Regions from separate parts of the Homo sapiens genome. Here region 1 is linked to region 2. The links are contacts of gene promoters, found by promoter capture Hi-C in human tissues and cell types (Jung and others, 2019). All regions are on one chromosome and are shown on one strand. The core of a region is centred on a gene start or on the middle of the fragment in contact, and the rest is flanking DNA. Distances in the headings are between cores, read along the strand shown.

What was found. Contacts are between HindIII fragments. The study calls those that stand out against the background at their distance.
Region 1: a fragment that was not itself captured here is called in contact with the fragment with the promoter of CCDC54 in region 2 in 1 of the 25 tissues and cell types used here (bladder).

Annotation. Positions count from the first base shown.
Region 1 is chr3:107,410,745-107,417,626 of GRCh38, reverse strand. No RefSeq gene overlaps it. Among named protein-coding and RNA genes, the nearest start is that of LINC01990, 17 kb to the left of the region's middle. The HindIII fragment of the contact is 7,217 bases long and covers 1,175-6,882 here.
Region 2 is chr3:107,372,462-107,379,332 of GRCh38, reverse strand. CCDC54 (coiled-coil domain containing 54) reads right to left here and starts at 1,894. Exons shown (of 1, transcript NM_032600.3): 1 at 698-1,894. The coding sequence starts at 1,745. The coding sequence ends at 759. The HindIII fragment of the contact is 13,990 bases long and covers 1-6,871 here.

The sequences.
Region 1 (6,882 bases), core at 3,534-6,033, 35 kb before region 2:
TTTTTTTTTTGTTTCTGAAGTTTGAATATGGTATGCCTCGGTGTAGGGGTTTTCATTTTGTTTTTCTGTTTTGCTTTTTTGCATTTATCCTGCTCGCTGATCTTTTGAGTTTTCTGTATCTGTGGTTTGCTGTCTGACATTAATTTGGAGGAAATTCCCAGTCGTTATTGCTTTAAATATTGCTTCTTCCCCTTTCTTTATGTCTTTTTCTTCTGGCATTCCTATTACGTTCATGGTATATCTTTTTTAGTTGTCCCAGAGTTCTTGGATATTTTGTTCTCTTTTTTTTTCAATTTTATTTTTCTCTTCACTTTTAAGTTTTGGAAATGTCTATTCATATCTTTAAGCTCAGAGGTTCTTTCCTCAGTTGTGTCCAATCTACTAATGAGTCCATCAAAGGCATTCTTCATTTGTAAGTGTTTTTGACCTCTAGGCTTTCTTTTGATTCTTTCTTAGAATTTCCATCTCTCTGCACTATCTGTTCTTGCATGTTGTGTACTTCTTCCAGTAGAGCCCTTAGCATATTAATCATAGTTGTTTTGCATTCCTGGTTGGATAATTGCAACATACCTGTCATAGCTGACTCTGGTTCTAATGCTTGCTCTGTCTCTCTAAACTGTGTTGTTTGCCTTTTAATTTTTATATTCTGTATTGTATGCCTTATAATTTTTTGTTGAAATCATACATGGTATATATGTAAAAGAAGCTCTAATAACTAGGCCTTTAGTGGTGTAGTTTAAGGTATGAAGGAAGAAAAGCATTCTGTATCCTATGATTAGGTCTCAGTGTTTCTGTAGGCCTGTACTTCGCCAGTGCTTCTCAATGCTATTTCCCCTATTAGGCTGGACAGGATGGCTACAGAGGGCTGGCATTGGATATTTCCCTTCCCCTGCGCAGGTTGGGCTCTGATAAAACTCTAGCAGGTTAGCTTCTGGTCCTGAGGACAGGACTTGTTAAAAAGAACAGATAGATTCTTTTTTCATTCCCTCGCCAGAAGCATAGGGAGATTTTTCTCCATTATTCACTATCAGGACATGGACATGGTAGAGTTCCCAGAGGTAAAATTCACAAAGCATGAGGGATCCCCTATGCCTGGGTCCTCCTAAAATTGTAAGGTCTCAGGCTGGTTCTCACTCAGCCTCTAGAAGTTCAAGTTTTCCCGCTCTGCTACTAGTTTAGGCTGAAGTTTTCTAACCTGCCCCTGGGGTTTCTGCTGTGGTAAATTCCAATTCTCTGTATTTGCTTGTTGCTCTCTTCAAGTTTGGGGCAGTGGTTTGCCCTGTGACCTCACTTCTCTGACAGCGCTAAGTGCTGTTGATTTTTCAGGTTGTTCAGCTTTTTGCCTCTTGTTAGGAAGTGTGACAACTTCTAAGTTCTTCACAGGCCAGACTAGAAACGGAAAGTCTCCAGTTCTTTACTTTTTAATCACAGATGTGAGCCTGCTATGCAGAAAAATTGAGGCAATGTCCATATATTCATCTGATTTTTGTACCTAATGCTTTGGAAACCTTTTGGATAAAAATATTAATGAAATATAATTTTTACATTCTCCTGAAATAGAGCAGAATAAGCATGAAAGAAGTACAGAGTAATTCTAGCTTCATGTTGGTATGTAAAACCTGAGATAAGCAAAATTCTAATTTTTAAATCACTCACTATTTGTGTATGGTTTCAAAGGCATTATGAAATGTTTATGTAGACATAATACCAAACATGAACAAAATTCACTCCTACCTCATTTATCCCCTGACTCTTCTCTAGAGCCCTTACTGTTAGTGGCACTGAACCCAGTTTGGTGGTAGAAGGAAGACAAGCACAAGTTGACTACATTTTAAAAAAAATTTTCTTTGTTTGAATAGTCACAAAGAGGTTTTGTTCTGAAGCTATCAAAGTACAAAATGTTCCTAAACTATTAAATATTTCACCAATATGGTTAACTTTTCCACATGGATTATAATTCCTGAAAGCTCAGAAAATATTTTTTGGAGAGACTCTTGTTCTCTGAGACAGCTCTGATTGTTGGCATTCAGTAAGCAATGCATGCTATTTTCCCAATTTTGGCTCCCCAGAAAAATAGGTCCCTAATACCTTATAAGTATTGTTTCCACACTTTTATGCATAGAATAATATAACTCAATGGACATAAGGATCAAAGATGCTATGAAAACTCATAGGTGAGTAAAATTAGTTTTGATTGAGGAATGAAGACAAAGATCATAAAAGCTAATGGCATTAAACATTTTAAGACCAGTAGTATGCACCAACAGCTTTAAAAATCTCCATGCCCATTTGTCTAGGTATTCCACTTCAAAGTTATTGCAATTACAAAGTTATTCATCATAACACTATTTAAAACAGCAAAACAACTAACATCTGGGAAATAGGAAAAACCAAGTAAAAATGTGATCCTGTCAATAGAAAGCCATGAAACCACAGGAATAACTTTGAAAATGTTTGTCTTCCATGCCATTAGCTTCATTATCTTTTTGATCCTTTGACTAAGGGTAATTTCACTCACCTATAAACTTGTACATTATTTTTGATCATTATGTTTATCAGATTACAGAATTTATGTATTTTATTGACACCCATTAAACTATAAACTTGTTGAAGTGAGGGATTTTGTCCTTCTCATCTATTTTTTTAACATGGCATATACCATTATATTCTTCGAGAAAAACATAAATGAGAGACAAAGTCTGTCAAATGAATTTCAGTTACCATGGTTTAATAAATAGTACCAGTACCCTCATAACATGGTTCAAGTTTTAGTTACTAAGGTATATTATCAGTGACTAATTACATAAGATACAAACTTTGTTGCTGGGGACAATGTCACCTGCAGTATGTTGCAGTGTCCAGGAAGTGAACTAAAGACTATGGCTGCCATGTCAAATCCTCCAGTAGAACACTCACTCTTCCCTCTAGTTTTTTTTTTTTAAATCATGACAGAAAACACATAATATAAAATATATTCTCTTAATCATTCAAAGTGCACAGTTCAGTGGTATGAACTATATATTCATTTGTTGTATAACAGTTCTGTAGGACATTTTGATCTTGTAAAACTGAAACTCTATACCCATCAAACAACTGCTTATTTTTCCCTCCCCTCAGTCACAGGAAACCACCATTCAACTTTCTGTTTCTATGATTTTGTCTGCTAGATATTGCATGTAAGTGGAATTGTACAGTATTTGTCCTTCTGTGACCCTCTAGTTATGTTGTGTACCTAATTTGTCATGTGGCCATCTCACAGAGGGAAGGATGAAGAAAGGGAACCATGTGTATATACTGTATTAAATATTGGTTAAGATTATTTTTCTGATTTTTCAAAACAAAAATTTATAATTAAAAGTTCTCACGTTTTCTTTCTCCAGCCTAATAGGTGCTTTTGTATTAACCCAATGTCAATACCCTCTAGCCAGAAACCCACCTGTAGCTGAAAAAGTTGAGTTTATTTCTCACTGCAGCAAGACAAAAATCATGCCAAGGGAACTGTTTCAGTAAGAGGATGTTAAGAAAGGTGTATTAAAGAACTGGGGCTTTGAATGGGTGATTTTGAAAAGAGTCTAGGGAAACAATTTATTCTGCATAACTGCTGTCAGGAAGTGAAGGAAATTCTATGATTGGGTATCTCAATAAACCTTATTTATAAAGAAGGCAGGTGTATTAGACCATTCTTGCATTACTGTAAAGAAATATCTGAAGGCTGGGCGTGGTGTCTCACACCTGTAATCCCAGCACTTTGGGAGGCCGAGGTGGGCGGATCACTTGAGGTCAGGAGTTTGAGACCATCCTGGCCAATATGGTGAAACCCAGTCTCTACTAAAAATACAAAAAAAATTAGCCCGGTGTGGTGGCGCATGCCTGTAGTCCCAGCTACTCGAGAGGCTGAGGCAGGAGAATCACTTGAGCCCTGGAGGCAGAGGCTGCAGTGAGCCCATGTTGTGCCACTGCACTCTAGCCTGGGCAACAGAGCAAGACTCTGTCTCAAAAAAAGAGAAGTATCTGAGACTTGGTAATTTATAAAGAAAAGAGGTTTAATTGGCTCACGGTTCTGCAGGCTTTACCAGAAGCATGGTGCTGGCATCCGCTGGGCTTCTAGGGAGGCCTTAGTAAGCTTGTAATTATGGCGGAAGGCAACAGGGGGGCAGGCATGTCACATGGTGAAAGCAGGAGCAAGTGAGAGAGAGTTGTGTCTGGGAGGTTTCACACAATTTTAAATGACCAGATCTCACGAGAACTCGCTATCAGGAAAACAGCACCTAGCCATGAAGCCTCCACCCCTATGATCTACACACCTCCCACTAGGCCCCACCTCTAGCATGGCGAGGGATTACAATTCAACATGAAATTTGGGTGAGAACAAAGATCCAAACCATATCGCAGATTAGAGCAAGGGTAAAGCTATAATTAGTAAAGAAGCAACAGGGACTCATATTAGCTAGGAGAAAGAGATGTTTGGTATTTTGTGGGGTTTCTACAGTGGCCTTATTTTGATGTGTGCTTAGATAAAATAATGAAGTGGACTTATTAATATTTTGTTTCACTTTATCATGGTCTCAGAGTGGCTTTGTCTCATGCTGCTGTTTTGTGAGATTGCTAATGTTCAACAGAGCAACAATATGGCCTACCCACTAGCATTGGTCCAGTTTGTGATAACACTGAGACCTGGTTGTGTCAGATTAGTTTCTGGATTTAGGGCCTGCTATTTTCTTGTTCATCACTTTCATAGACATGTAGGGTTGAAATCAGAGAAATCTATGATGCAACTTCAATTTCGTTATTTACTTTCAGTGTGATCATGGGCAAATGATTTACTCTCTGTCACTTCAATTACCTATATGGTACCTACCTCAAAGGAACACAGTGAGCATTAAATGAGATAGAGCATCTGGAGTGCTGAGTAGATTGATTTGTACTGAGAGCTCATGTTAACAATAACTGCCTTTTATTAGCTCTCTCTCATGGAGGATTCTTTTTTTTTTCCATTTAAAAAACACACGTTTTGGGTGACTACCAAGTGTCAGGCACCACGCCAGGGATGCAATGATGAACAAGTCATCTGTGGCCTCTTCCTCACAGAACCTGCAGCCTAGCATGAGTAACAAACAACTAGACAGGCAATTTAACAGAGGGTAAAAGTTTCTACGAAAAAGGACTATAGGAGTCTCTAAAATAGCTTAGCAGGCCTGGAGAACTGTCTCTAGAAAAAAGTGTTGCTTATGATGATATCTAACAAAGGAACAGGAGTTATCTGTGATCTAGGTAGAAGGAACAGCATAAGCTAGGGCAGAAAAGTGAAAGAGAATATGGCACAGCCTGTTCGATGGAGAAACAAACAAATAAATAAAAAACAAAAACAGAAAGAAAAAGACTTGCACTTTTTAAGTGCACTCCATATGAAACAATTTCTTTTCAAGTCTTGTACATAATTTGATTTGCCACTGCAATAGTGATTACAGCTGATTAATTAATGATGATACAATGCTTTGAAAATACAAAGTGCAGCACATTTGCTAACAAAATGATGATTAATTAGCATGATTACTGTTTCAATATAGCCTCTGTTTACTATCTAAACTTGGACTTCCAAATGTCTGCTTGCCTTCACGCACCAAAGACAGCTGCTTCACAATGGTTTGGAGGCTATTTTTGGCCTTTCCTTCCCTGGGTTGTGAATGAACGTAGGACTAATAATGAAAGAAAAAAAAAGTGGTCAGAATGACTTCCAAGGTTTTTGCCTAACAAGGAATTCTACAATGTCTACTATTCTCTCTCTCTCAGTTTCTGCTACACTAAAATCATGCTGAAAAGTACTGGGAGTCTGTGCTATGGGGGCTTCTGGTGAAGCAAATGCACTGAGGGCCATTGTTTCAGTATATAAACTTTCTTGGTTAGGGTCCACTAAATAAACATAACTTCTTGTGGATTTCAATATCACCCCACTATTACATACAATTTCTAGAGAAATAACAGACTAAATGGGATTCTAGCAGTGTGTATTTTTCCCTTGATAAAAAATACTTCAGTGTTATCATCTTCTGCTATTAATTAAAAAAATACAGAAACAATGCTGCTGAGTTTTAATTGTTGATGAACATCTAAACGTGCTTAGTTTACAGTTAAACACTATCCAAAGTGATTTTTTGTTTCTGTAATGAATAACCAGGATAAGCAGATGTGGGTGGCAGCATCCTATTGATAAAAATCATCTTGGTTAATAGACATAGGTGCATCAAAATGTTGGATTTAACCCAGTCTGAAGGAAGTTTCTAGTGAAATATTGTTCTTTTTAGGATGTAGAAAGTTCTCTTCAGTTGTCCAGTGTGTCAAGTGACTCCTGCATTTGGCTGGCTGGCATGATAAGCTGATAGGAATTTGGCTTGGAGAGGCTGCACTAACAGATATTGGCCTAAAAATGGTTGCAGACATGTTTTCATTGCAGGTATTAAATGCTTGCAGCTATCTTTTGGCCTAGAGTATGTTCCTATTATTAGGTTAGTTCAAAAGTAATTGCAGTTTTCACCATTAAAAGTAATGCCACTAGATCTGCCTTAATAATAAGAACTTATTTCTGGTAGGGGAGAAAAGACAAATTCACAAATATATTTACATTAAATTGAGCAGTTTGTGGTAAGTATAGTAGGAGATTATATAAATCCATGCTGAAAAGAAAGCAGAGAATGGAGGAATTACTCTGAGCTGGGTATTTTTCATGGTGGAGGTGCCTTTAGGAATGGGTCTTGAACAATAGGAAGTATTTCAAATAGCAGAGATGGTATTATGGATTGGAAGAGGGAGAGCATTCCAGGACTTGGAAATGGCATTGAGCAAGAATGTGGGGAAAAGCTGGCAATAGTTATTGCGTCCTGTCTA
Region 2 (6,871 bases), core at 645-3,144:
ACTGCTAACTTTAGTAGCCTTGACAATGGGTATCCTTTTCACTCTATACTACCTAAAGTCTGACCGGGCGTGGTGGTTCATGCCTGTAATCCCAGCTCTTTGGCAGGTCGAGGTGGGTGGCTCGCTTGAGGCCAGGTGTTTGAGACCAGCCTGGTCAACATGGTGAAACTCTGTCTCTACTAAAAATACAAAAATTAGCTGGGTGTGGTAGCGTGCGCCTGTAATTCCAGCTACTCAGGAGGCCGAGGTAGGAGAATCACTTGAACCCGGGAGGTGGAGGTTGCAGTGACCCGAGATTGCACCACTACACTCCAGCTGGGTGACAGAGTGAGACTCCATTTCAAAAATAAATAACAAATAAAATGAAGTCTTGTCAGTAGTGTATGTTTCTGGTATCACAAACCGTATCCACAAAGGCCACGAGGACAAAGTGTATAGAAAACTGACATGGAGGCCACCAAACATACTACACATTGCCCTGGACTCCTTCATTCTTTGTTTCCAATTATCTATGAAAATGGACCCAGGATGAGTCCTCATGAATTGCCTTTGAGAAAACAAGAACATTGAGAGAAAACGAATTACAACAGTTCAATTAGATCATGTGCCTTAACTTACTGTAGACATAGAGAAACTCTGCAGATAGTGGGCCCAGAGTGAGCAAACTACCGAAGAATTCACAGCCACCACACCAATGTGTGAATACTTGGAGCCTCCAGGTTACATTTATTTTGTGCCAAGCAAAGCAGAACATAACTCTATAGTCGAGTTACTTCTTCTTTTAAGGAACAAATAAAGCCGTAAATATTGTTGAAGATGGAGAGACAGATTGTGGTCAAGCTCAAAATGGGCCCAGTGAATGGACAGTATCTCTGGGTTATGACCTGGGGTTCCTCAGGAAGAATGGTTGGCCTAGAAAGAAGCCACTGGATGAATTCTTCTAACTTGGTAGCACTGAGGAAAAATGTCCATTTTCCTCCATGAACAAAAGTTAGCTTGATCCATGTACTGAAGTCTGGGTAAATGTAAATATTTGGCTTTGCTTTTTCAAAGCTCCTTGATGCATTTTGATGGTTACGTTTCTTCAGAGTTTTCATTTGGGGAGAAATTGTTTTTTTCTCAAGATGGTCAGTGGACTTTGGATAACTGGGCACTTTCTCTGGTTCTGCTGAAGAGATTTCCATGTCTGTAGAGGCCAAAGTGTTCTTCAGAGTTGCTGGTTGTATGAGTTTGTAAAGCAGTTCTGTGATTTCTTTACCCCTTTCTCCCTCCAGAATCTCTAGACAATGTATCGTGGAGCAGGAATTCTGAATTTCCAGTTCTGTCACCTTCTTCTTTAATGCCTTGATGTCTTCTTTCATAGAGAGGATATCTTTAGTCGTTGTGCATTGTTTGTCTTCATTAACATTCATTCTGGTTTCCAGGACCTCCATCTGTTTTTGATACAAGTCAGTCTTTTCCTGGACTTTTGGTATCATATGGACAATGTCAGTCATTTGGCTGAAAAGTTCAACTTGAGCAGTTTTAACATCTTGGAGCACTACTGGAAGATTCATTTTTCCGTCATAACTATCATCATCTTGATTACAATCATCAGATGTCACAGTGGGATATCCAGTTGAATCTTGGTGCCGAATCTTACATTTGTGGTAAACATTTTTAAGAGACTGTCTGACCTTGGAGAGATTTGAAGTCCACATCTGCCTAGCAGCAGCTTTTACCCTTTTGGTGTGAAGTGTGTACATCTTTCATGGTGAAACAAGAGGCAAGGTGTTGGAAAACAGAATCACAGGAAGAAATAATGTACAAATGAAATGGTCCTTCTCTTACTATTTGTTGGATGCCTTTCCTGATAACATCTTAGAACACTCTGGAAATCATCAGCCACAGCAATAGACACTGTTAGGTGATTAGCTTCTTATAGAGCAGCCCAACCAGAGAGCTCTGTGAAATAATAGTCAACTGCATGGAATCTTTCATATGGTAATCATTGACCTGCTGCTGATGTCACAATGACTGCTGGCTTAGAACAAACATATTTAACTACAGCAGTTCTCAAAAGTTTTGGTCATAGGGCTCTTTTTGAATCATAGAAATTGTTGAGCAGCCTGAGGAACACAGAAAAACACCTGTTGCTACAAAAAAATAAAAAAATTAGCCAGCCATGGTGGTGCATGCCTGTAGCCTCAGCTACTTGGGAGGCTGAGGTGGGAGGATCACTTGAGCACAGGGGGTGGAGACTGTAGTATGCCATGATGGTACCACTGCACTCCAGCCTGGGCGACAGTACAAGACTCTGTCTCAAAATGAATAAATAAATAAATAAATAAATAAAAATAAAAATGAAAAATTATTGAGGATCACACAGATTTTGTTTATTTGGGTTATATCTACCTACATTTTATAGTAGACATTAAAACTAAGAAAGTCTTAGATAATTAGTTATTAATTTAAATTTAAAAACCCATTACATGTTAACATAAGTGATATATTTTCATAAAAAATAATTTGGTTTTCTAAAAAAAAAGTGAGAAGAGTGGCATTGTTTTACATATCTGCAAGTGTTTTAAATACCTGAATTAATAGAAGATAACTAGATTCTCATATCTGCTTCTGCATTATATCTGTTGTGATATATTATTTTGAAGTATATGAAGAAAAAATAGCCTCATGGAGTTACGTAAATGGAAAGGGGAGAGTATTTTCATAGCTTTTTCAGATAATTGAGGATATCATTCTTTGCTACTTTATGAAAATTTGACAAATGATTTTTTTTAAGAAGTTAGCTGCAATGTGTCATTTTAGGCCAAATCAAAGAAGTTTCATACTCTGTTATATTAATAGCCGCTGGTCTATTTTTTATTTTGAATAGATGCATAATATCATGTATTGGTCATTTGGCAAACAATGGTTCACTGAATTATGTAGGTCTTCCAAATGTCAACTCATTGTATTATATAATATCAAAATATCATTTTCATTAATATCTCCACCAATCTCACCAGAAAAGTCTTTGAGTACTGAGAAGAGGCCAAGCTCATGGTAGCAAATGCAGATTTTTCAAAATTCTAATTTTAGCTTGAAAATCTTGAAATTTATCAAGCTGGTTTATTGTTTTCCTTGAAGTGACAGATTCCCTCCATCCATTTTTTGCAAAAATGCTTGCCAAATGCCCAACTATGAACACTGTAGTTTGTTGTCAGTTTTTTTCAAGAAAAAATAGTGTTCCATGAAAAAAGCACACATTTGTAATTCAAATACTTATGTACGTTTCCTCATGAAAACCAGTATACTTTGTTAAGCTGCAGAAGCACTTATGTTTACTTCCCATTATATCATACATAATATAAAAAAGATGTACTGAAGGGTTGAGATCTAATAAGATTAAAAATTCTTACTGCTTCATTGAGGACATTCTTGAGTGAAACTGGTTTTTCTTGTATTTTTTTCCTTTTCTGATTGAGTCACTGTTAGTCAGTGTGGTACCCCTGCTGTAGTTCATGCTAAGGTATCAACAGTTTTACCCACCATTGCTTTTGCAATGTAATTTTCAACAGGCAAATGTAAGCACAGTGGAAGAGACAAACGGTGTCCTGGGATTATTTTGAAATATTGTTGCCCTCATTGTCACACTTACAGAGTGGTCTCATGACACAAAGCATTCCACACTTTGAGAGCCACTGCCTTAGAATTTAAAAATAACAGCAGCCATTTCTCATGTTCCTTCTTATAGGTTTTTCTACATAACAGTATTTGAAATTCAAACCCTTTGAAATATTAAATAATATTTGGCCCATTTTATATATTGAGGTAAAAACTTAATTTTATTCTCTAAACACATTAGACTGAACACTCTGGAATCAAAATGACGTGTTACTCACATGTCTCTCAAGGAGCAGTCCCATTCTACTCAAAAGGACATTCCCTCTTGGATCCATGCCAATTCCAACCTTCTACCAAATCACTGTTTCTTCTATCTGTGCCCAATTGGAGGGTCAGTGTTGGCCCAGGATTTGGTACAAACAGTGAGCTTTTCCAGCAGTAATTTTAAAATTTTGGCTCATCAATAATATCTGGGATTTTGCCTTACTCTCCTATCTTTCAAATGCTGTTTAGTAACCTTTCGAAAATGTCTAGAAACCTTTCCAAACACTTGCTGAGGAAAATATTCTCCAAGAGGCAGACTATCACAGGAATGGCATTTGGGGCTTGGAAAGGTTAGAGTTCACAGCCGTCCCGTTTACTCTGGCTAAGGCCATTTTATCCGTCGAGTTCTGCAGACACAGTACTTAGGGCCCATACAGTTTTTAAGGGCCAATGAAAATACTTAAGAACAGAAGAAAAAAAAAACAGTGGCTCAGAATACTGAAAGAAAGCTGCAAGATTGAAGCAATAAATGTTTAATGAAACGTCTCTGAAATGTACTATGTCATATTCATTAATTGTTAGATTTAGTATTATTAAAATTTCATTACATTTGGAGGCAATTTGTGTATTACGTATTCTCACTTTCCAAGAATTCCCAGTTAAATGAGAGGGACTGCTTGTCATAATTACTCCCTCCAGGTTAATAACAGCTAAGACTTGTTGGGTGCATACCAGACACTGCTCTAAGTATTAGCTTACTTAACTATGTTCAGAGAAGTCAAGTAACTTTCCTAAGGTAATAGAGCTTAAAAATGGGCAGAGTCAGATTTCAAATGCTTACATTCTGGCTCCAGAGTCCATGTGTTTTACCTCTACTGCCTCACAATCATGATTAAAATATATATTTAGTACAACTCAGAAAAAGATGGACATTTTCTTTTTAAAATCCTACTGTATATTTATAGAAGACTTATTTTATTAAAATTTTGTCTGTTTAGCATTATGAGAAAATTTAAGCTTTCATCGGTTATTTTATTTACCAAAAGCATTTGATACAGAAATTTGTGAAGACTTTAGAAGTTGAACAAGCTCTAATTTGTAGGTAAAAGTGAATATTTGGAGGCTTACTTTCCTTACTGTGGTAGACATAGTAATACAATAATTGGAATTAAAAAAATTAAAGTTTTCAACTTAAAATATGAGTGTATGCTTACTATTTTTATAAAACAAATAAATCTAATAGGCTGATACAAACATAAACCTGTCTGGGTTTCTAACTACTTCCTTCGTAATGTCAATAAAGGGAGCCTTGGCTTATCTGGAGTTTGCCAGGTGGTGAAAAGTTGCACCGGGAGGAGGTAAGCCTATTGATTTGGGCGAAGTTATGAGAGCAGTCAGAAAGTGAATGAATAACGGGAAATAAGCTGACTTCCGCTCTTCGGGTTCCTGCCAAGGGTATGGTGGCATTTAGAAATAAAATAGCACAGTGGTCTGAAGCCTAGTGGGAGACTTCCTGAGTCTACCTGTTCTCCAGGAGGTTGGCTTTCACAGGAATGGTATTTGGAGCCAGAAAGGTTCAAGGCTGTCCCATGACTAACTCAGTGCTCTTACACAAGTTTCTAGCCTCCCACAAGCCTGTAAAATGGGATAATAACAGCACCTAGTTCAGTGACTGGTTTTGAGAATTAAGATGCTGAATAGTTACAAGTCCTTTCCTCCTCATTTCCCACCACCTGTCTCTCACTTCTCTTCTTCCAGATGAAAGGAGATGGTTAACCGTTTTCAGCTTTAGCGCTGCCTGCTCTCTCAATCTCTCACTCTGCCTTTCTCCCTCTTTCAATATGACCAAGACATAAAGTGTGTGGTCCTTGCTGCCCAATATACCATGCAGGGAAAGCATTTCGATTAGAGGCAACTGAAATGCAGCAAACAAGGCTGACACATCAGCCCTTTATCTCTTAGCACAGGGTTTCCCAACCAGCTTTGGTTTCAGGCAGACTGGAGTAGAATAACCACTGGTTAGATGGGTCTAATAATACATAATATTATTCAATATTTTAAATGCTGTGTTTTTGAGTACACTAACTATATATTAATTATGGCAGAGTTTAGATTATCTATATAAATTACATATATAAAAGTCACTCTGGGCCGGGCACGGTGGCTTACGCCTGTAATCCCAGCACTTTGGGAAGCTGAGGCGGGCGGATCACAACGTTAGGAGATCGAGACCATCCTGGCTAACACGGTGAAACCCCGTCTCTACTAAAAATACAAAAAATTAGCTGGGCATGGAGACGGGCGCCTGTAGTCCCAGCTACTTGGGAGGCTGAGGCAGGAGAATGGCGAGAACCCGGGGGTCGGAGGTTGCGGTGAGCCGAGATCGCGCCACTGCACTCCAGCCTGGGCGACAGAGCGAGACTCCGTCTCAAAACAAACAAACAAACAAAAACAACAACAACAAAAAAGTCACTCTGTTTTTTTTAAACATGTTTTTTTGTGTGTGTAGGAGAGAGTGGGATAGTTACAGCTATCCTGCTAGCAATTGAGCATTATGTATAACGTTTGTGTTACACCTGTAGTGATCTACTATTACTCATGTTACCTTAGGGGTCGTGACCACAAAAACTTATTAAGAGTCTTTAACTTCCCCCACAAAATTTAGGGGCCAGGTTCACAAGAATCTGGACCCTCCCACGTGACTATCACCTGTCATGTGCACGGTGGGATAAAAGATTGAGGAAACAGGAACCAGGAAAGTCTTTCGAATTTGATCAGGGTGGGCTGACTCAAGGGGATAAGAATGTGCGAATTCAATCTCCTGTTACACATGCTAAGTAGTTATGAAGGGCCCAAAGGGAAAGCTGTCTTCTACTTTTCTTTCTTTTTAGCCATGAGAAATAGAAGAGAGTGGGCTTGAAATCAGAGCTGTTGCACTGGACCAGGACAGAGAAACAGGGGAAAGTCACAGTGTTTATAATGTAGGCAAGGTTTCAGGCTGAAG